2 separate regions of the Homo sapiens genome follow, and region 1 is linked to region 2. Evidence: promoter capture Hi-C in human tissues and cell types (Jung and others, 2019). All regions are on one chromosome and are shown on one strand. The core of a region is centred on a gene start or on the middle of the fragment in contact, and the rest is flanking DNA. Distances in the headings are between cores, read along the strand shown.

What was found. Contacts are between HindIII fragments. The study calls those that stand out against the background at their distance.
Region 1: a fragment that was not itself captured here is called in contact with the fragment with the promoter of CYP2R1 in region 2 in 1 of the 25 tissues and cell types used here (IMR-90 fibroblasts).

What each region holds. Positions count from the first base shown.
Region 1 is chr11:15,044,809-15,048,226 of GRCh38, forward strand. No RefSeq gene overlaps it. Among named protein-coding and RNA genes, the nearest start is that of CALCB, 27 kb to the right of the region's middle. The HindIII fragment of the contact is 5,872 bases long and covers 1-3,418 here.
Region 2 is chr11:14,890,654-14,894,208 of GRCh38, forward strand. CYP2R1 (cytochrome P450 family 2 subfamily R member 1) reads right to left here and starts at 1,578. Exons shown (of 5, transcript NM_024514.5): 1 at 1,328-1,578. The coding sequence starts at 1,552. It also overlaps a transcript of PDE3B not described here. RefSeq lists a silencer at 1,086-1,325. The HindIII fragment of the contact is 8,315 bases long and covers 316-3,555 here.

The DNA.
Region 1 (3,418 bases), core at 119-2,618, 150 kb after region 2:
TAAACAGTAAACAATTTATTTCTCTGGTCCCTGAGGCTAGAAGTCCAAGACCAAGATGCAAGCAAGGTAGATTTCATTTTGATGCCTCTTCTCTGAGTGGGTGCCATCTCATCGTGTGCTCACATGACCTCTTCTTTGTGTGAAAGAGAAGAGAGAGAGCTCTGGTGTCTCTTCTTCTTACAAGTATACTTATAAGAAGTATACTTCTCATACTTAAGAACTTACAGACTTCTTATGGTATGCATCATGGGGGCCCCACCCTCATGACCTCACCTAAACCCAGCTATCTCCAACGGCCCTACCTTCAAATGCTACCACATTGAGGGTTAGGGCTTCAACATATGAATCTCGGGGGGACACAAACATTCAGTCCACAACAGCATTTATGAGTGTCAAAAGATGTGGGGAAATATGGCCACAATCCAAAAGACTCATAACCTCTTCAATCTGACTGTTCATCCCTCCAATGCAAAACTAACTGATTATTGTATTAAGTCATCATTCCCTTTTCCCCAACACACCTCAGCAATTTTAAAACCAGTTCTACCTTGCACCCAGAGAATTATTTTAGAATTTACCATGTCACACAATTACTGCCTACTCATCACTAAATATTGTGACTTTGACAATACTACCCTTTTTTGAGGGGGAAGAGAACATAATATTTGTAATAAATGAATATTTGTATAAATAAACAAATTTTGAAAGCTGTTTGAAGTTGAGTTTTGTAGAATTATCCTACATGAAGTCTATAAGAAGGAAAACTAGAAGATAAGAATTTATCACTGTCAGTTTAGTATTATCCCAGGGAAACAAAGATTATCTATCAGAGGGTTCTGATCCTCTTTTGTGGGTAGGATCTTACCAGCCTTTGTTAGTGATGAGATAAAATATCCCTGTTGGCTATCAACTTTCTTGTACCTTATTTTTTCCTGTTCACTAAGAAAGATCCTGATGACTAATTTGGCTTCTCAGGTATCTTGATAGGAGGAAGAGTAAGCTCCAAAAAGTGGCATAAATTCTGGTCCTTGGAAAGAGGAAGGCATACATTGTAAACCTTACATACCTCAGGTTTTGGTGAGTTCAATTTATGAGAGTCAGTTCTCCAAGTCTGGTCAACCCTGGTGGACTGAAAAAAAAATGAGTTTCTAGACTTCAAAGCATCGAACAAAAGCCCAGTAAACAGACCAGAGCAAGATATTCAGCTCAGTGAGAACTTGCTTGAATTGCCAGCCAGTGTATCTTTGTCTCATGTCTTCTTGCTTGAACAAATCTGAATGGTCATACAGAGTGGTCATGTCAGTTGCCACCTGCCAGCTGTTGTGTCATCTTCACTGACACAGAAAACTAACTCCCCTCGCCATCCCCACACAACAGCTCTACCCCATGAATAGAATACTTGGCAGCATACACAGCAACTATGCCAGAATGCTGCAGACATAAAATAGAATCATATTTTCAGGATCTCTGATAATTTCTTCATATATAACATGCCACCTCCTCAGAGTCCACCACCCCTTAAAACAGCCTAGTTTTAAAGGGACACTTTTTATGCTAAGAATCAGTGAAGGGTTTTAGAAGCATTTAAAAAAATTGAGTACAATTGTGTATTCTTCCTTTGAGTGGAAGGTTATATATGGGTACAGTTACAACACCCAGCCCAGCCAGAACTGTATCTCTGAGCACAGTTGATAGTATCTGAAGTTAGAAACTGTGTTCTGAAGGAAGATGAGCTAAAAACTTTGAGGCGGCTGGGCACAGTGGCTCATGCCTGTAATCCCAGCACTTTGGGAGGCCGGGACGGGCAAATCACCTGAGGTCAGGAGTTTGAGACCAGTCTGGCCAACATGGCGAAACCCCGTCTCTACTAAAAATACAAAAATTCGGTGGGTGTGGTGGCAGGCACCTGTAATCCCAGCTACTAGGGAGGCTGAGGCAGGAGAATCGCTTGAGCCTGGGAGGCAGAGGTTGCAGTGAGCTGAGATTGCGTCACTGCACTCCAGATGGGGGGACAGAGTGAGACTCCATCTCAAAACAAAACAAAATAAATAAATAAATAAATAAATAAATAAATAAATAATAAAAAATAAAAACTTTGAGGCAAGTTAAGTAGAAGGCATTTTTACTCATTCACATTGCAGACTAAGGCATCCTGGTAGTTTTCTGTCCACTAACCAATTTTTTAATACAGATATTCTGGATTCACTCTTTTTTCTGGGTCTTTCTGGATTTTTCCCTATTCTCCAAACAGAATCTTGCTGTCAGTATAGTCTCTGTAATTCTTCAGGGTACAAGTTCCATTGAACTGCATGCATTAACACTATGCTTTAACTTTAAACAGACCTTTGTCCTTAGAGCAGCTGTCTCTATGAATATTTCATCAGTGAATGTTTACTGGTAACATTTTAAATTCTCCTTTATTTTAAACAACTTCCCTGGATCTCTTTGTTTTTTTTTTTTAATTAGAGTTGTCTAATTTTTTCTTAAATCTCTTACTGGAGACCATATTCTAGATATCCTAGGAATATATAGGTATAACAAGCAGAGGCTTTCTTTAAGTAGAGATATCAGTGATGATCTGTCTGTGTATTGCTCACATAAAATATCTCCACAAAAAATAATAATTCTTCTGATAATGGAATAGTGAAGTGTATAAGGCACACAAAGATACAATTCAAGAATAAATCTTCCAAAGAGACAAAAATAGAGGTGCCTCGAGTATCTTTAAATATCAGGATTTTGACTGAAGCCACAGGCCTCAAGTTGCTCACTAAACTATGCCTAAAATGTCAAGCTGGACTAAAAAGTCCAGTCTGGTGCTAAGACTATCAGTTATGCAATGATAAATATTCCTTCCTTTGAGAACCAAGGTGTCCTCTGAGTCCTAACATGTATATGCTAAATGAGCTATTCAATAGATGTATCCAAACCACTGATCCAAATGCTCATGTGGCTTTATGACATGTCACTAGAAATTCCTTTCCAGTTTGAAGTCAATCAATCAGTGTCTTTTAGTTTTTGTCATTTAACCAGTTGTCTTTCATATAGTCCAAATATATGCTTCTTGTCTACCAGGATTTCATGAGATCCATACCAGAACCTAAGGTTGTGGGCATGGAAAGCATCAAATTTTACTTGTATGTCCCTGGGAGTAATGGTGAGAGGTGACAATCTTATTTCCACATCTTAGTTGTCTTTTCTAGCTACTGAGGACACAGCACAACACGTAAGTTATTGGTTTAATACATATGTTGCATCTGGCAGGAGAGCTCCCCAATGCTACAGAATATCCCTGAGTTGATGCCTAATGTAAGCCCATCACCATTAACCCTAATGACATTTCACCATTTCATAAACTGGATACTTCTGGGGTTGGGTACAGAGAAAGCTAATTGCTGCACTTCCTTTAAGGTACATG
Region 2 (3,555 bases), core at 328-2,827:
CTCCTGCCTCAGCCTCCCGAATAGCTGGGACTACAGGTGCCCGCCACCACGCCCGGCTAATTTTTTGTATTCTTTTAGTAGAGATGGGGTTTCACCGTGTTAGCCACGACGGTCTCGATCTCCTGATTTCGTGATCCGCCCGCCTCGGCCTCCTAAAGTGCTGGGATTATAGGCGTGAGCCACCGCGCCCGGGCACCTAGACCAATCCTTGTAAAAATTGGTTTAAGTAAGGATTTAAGGTCAAACCTGAAATACCACAGTTGCCAAACATCCCTGTACTTTTCCTTCAAAACACTGACCACAGCCTGTGGCCGATAATGAGATTAGTTTTCTCTCTCCCACTCATCTGCCAACTCCTTAAAAGGCTGTATCTGCCTTCTTCACCGCTAGCGTCAGGCCTGTAGTTGCATATAAATAAGTGTAATTCAAAACAAAACAGGTGAGCTCTGTCCCAGGACCCGTGGAAACTCCTGCCCCCTCCGGACGTCGGGACACCCACACACAAGCGGTGGTCGCCTTTTCCGCTGCCAGTCACAGGGCATTTCCGTGCTGCTTTCCCCTCCGCAGAATGAGGAGGAGCGAAGTACCGACCTCACCGGCTGGTTATGAGTTTTAAATGAGTCACCAAGTTGGCAGTGACAGTGGCACACAGAAGGCGCCTTTTAAGTATCTGCTAAGGTGCCGTTCCCAGCCAGTCAGAACGGCATTACCATCTGCGCTGTAGGACCCCCGCAGCGGATTTTAGTCATCAATTCATTCACGCGTTCACAATCGTTTCCCAGGGCCCGCTTCTCAGTCAGGGGCGTTCCCCTGCATTCTCCATTCTCACAGCAAACGCCTACACCAGTCGTTCGTCGACTGCAGACACCGAAGAACCTGCTATTAACCATCTAGAACTCAGAACGCCTTGATTTTCCGACAAGCCGCGTGCAGCTTCCACAGAGCTGCGAGGCCGACTCGCAAGACGCCCGCACCTGAGGGCATGCGTCCACCCTGGACCTGAAGTGGCGGCGCGGCTGGCGAGCCAAACGGCGCAGGCGCAGGAGCAAGAGCTCGAGCGGTAGCGGGAAAATCAGGACTGGATCGCCTCGGAGCCTCGGCCCGGAGTGGGTCACCGGCAGGGGCGGGGCTCCCCCTGCAAGGGGGCACGGCGTCGAGGACTTCTCCCTTCCAGACCCGGGAAGCGGGTGTCCCTCAAAGGGCAGCCGGCACACGGAGAGGTCCCGACTAGTCGGCCCAGGGGCGGCCATAAGTCCAACCAGGAAGGCCCTGGCCAGCCCGGGCCAGCCTGGCGGCCCTCCCTGCCCGGGGCCCGTCGGGGCTGTACCTCTCCGTACACCTGGCTCTGCTTTCTCATGTAGACATGGGGAAGCTCGGATGAGGCTGCCAGGGAATAGATGTTGCCGATAAATGGCAGCCCCGGCGGCCCCGGGGGGAAGCCCATCGGCCGCCTCTGCTTCAGCAGCTGGCGGACCCCTAGCGCGAAGAGCAGCAGGAAGAGCGCGCCGCCGAGCGCCGCCGCGCCCTCTTCAGCTCTCCAAAGCTTCCACATCGGCCCGAGCTGGAGGTGCGAACTCCACAGCAGCCCTGAGACCCAGGCACTCCCTCCAGCCCTGCCATACTCCCATTGGCAGGATACCCTCAGGTCCCGCCCTAGCTCCGTGGCCATTGGCTGACTGAGTGAGCGCTCAGGCCCCTTCGGGACAACTACCTTCTAGTTTTGCGCGGCTGAGAGTGGACTTTGCGGAGCGGGTGGCCGGTGCTACCCTTTGGAGGTGGCGCGGCTCTAGGCGGAGCAATGAGCCAGGAGTCCGTTTTCTAGAATGTTGACACAAGGGCATTGACGAGGTGTCAGGACGGCCTCACTCACTGGGCTAGGCGGATCCTGCCTCTCTGGGGCCAGACCTTTCTTAAAGTGTCTTTTTAAGTACCAGGTCTGCTTATTTCATTTCACACTAGGAAAACTGGAGAGATGATCAACACTGCAGTCTTTAGCTGAACCTGATACTTTTCAGAATTTCCAGTAGAAAATTGACCCATCAGTAGTAAAAGAAAGTAATTTTACTGTTTTGTCCTGTTTTACTATTTTTCTCCTGTTAATGTATTTTTGTGTGTGATCTTTTAATAATTGTGATGATTGAGCAGTTTATGTGATTAACTCAGTTTACCTATATTTGACCCCTCTCTGGTCTTTCCAAACTGATTACTTATTGGCAATCACGGGACTCTTGTCTGCACTTGTTCACGGAGAGTATTTACTATTCAAGATTTCTGCCTCCACTGCCTGGAATTAAGCAACTGATTTCATATTATTCTTGCTAATTGTTTTTATTCCTGTTTTCTATTGGGCAGTTCCTTGCAATACAGGACTTACTGGGTTTGGGACTCTTCTAACAGCTGCCCTCTAATTGTGATTTAGCAGTGGCATGAGTTTTATGGTCCTCATTAGCTTACGACTCATTCACACAACAAATATTTATTGAATGTCTACTATGTTCCCATGTCCTAAGCAATGGAGATACATAGGTGAATAAGAGCAACAAAGTCCTTTCTATAACTTACATTCTTATGAGAGGGAAGAGCAATGACATGGAAATACAATAATTTTCAATAATCAGAAGCAAACAAAAAGTGCGTTATAGAAAACGCCTGGTGGTTGGGGAGATACTTTAGCAGGCAAGGGCTGTCAAGGAAAGTCTTATTAGGAAGATGACATTGGAGCTGAGATCAACTGCTAAAGAAGTGTATTTGTTTCCTACTACTGTTGTAATAAATTACCACCAATCTGATGGCTTAAAACCACACAAATTTATTTTCTTACAATTCTTGAGGTGAGAAGTCCAAAATGAGTCTTCCAGGGCTGACAGAGAGGTGTTAGTGGGGCTTCATTCTTTCTAGAGACTGTAGGAGAGATTCTATTTCCTTGTCTTTTTCAGCTTCTAGAGGCTGCCCACATTCCTTGGCTTTCGTCCCCATTCCTTCCTCTTCAAGGCCATTAATGTCAGTTTGAATCCTTCCAACATCGCTGTCTCTCTGATTATCTCTCTTCTACTTCCTTCTTCCACTTATAAGGATCGTTGTGATTATATTGGGCCCACCTGGATAATCCCAACTCAAAGATCAGCTGATTAGCCCTTTAATTCCATCTGCAACCTTAATTCTTCTTGCCATGAAACCTAACATATTCACAGTTCTAGGGATTAGTATGTGGACCTATTGGGGGAGGGGAGCATTATTCTGCCTACTATAGAAGAGAAATTTGAGGCAGATATGGGGGAAAATATTCCAAACAGAGGAAATATCAAGGGCAAAGGCTTCATATACTAAGCAAACCTTGTCCTCTGAGAGTGTTTCCAATTTCTCTCCATCTCCCACGCAAGGACACTGCGGAAGTCAGCAAGTTAGTCAGGTCTTTGAGTTTTTCTGTTTAACTGGCTTGTGACTATCCCCAGGGGCTGAAGTTACCCCCACAGGTATGTGTCACAGTATCTGCAGCCACAGAATATCTACCTACTGCCTATTACAAATGCCTATTAAGAGATACCTTAAAATTCT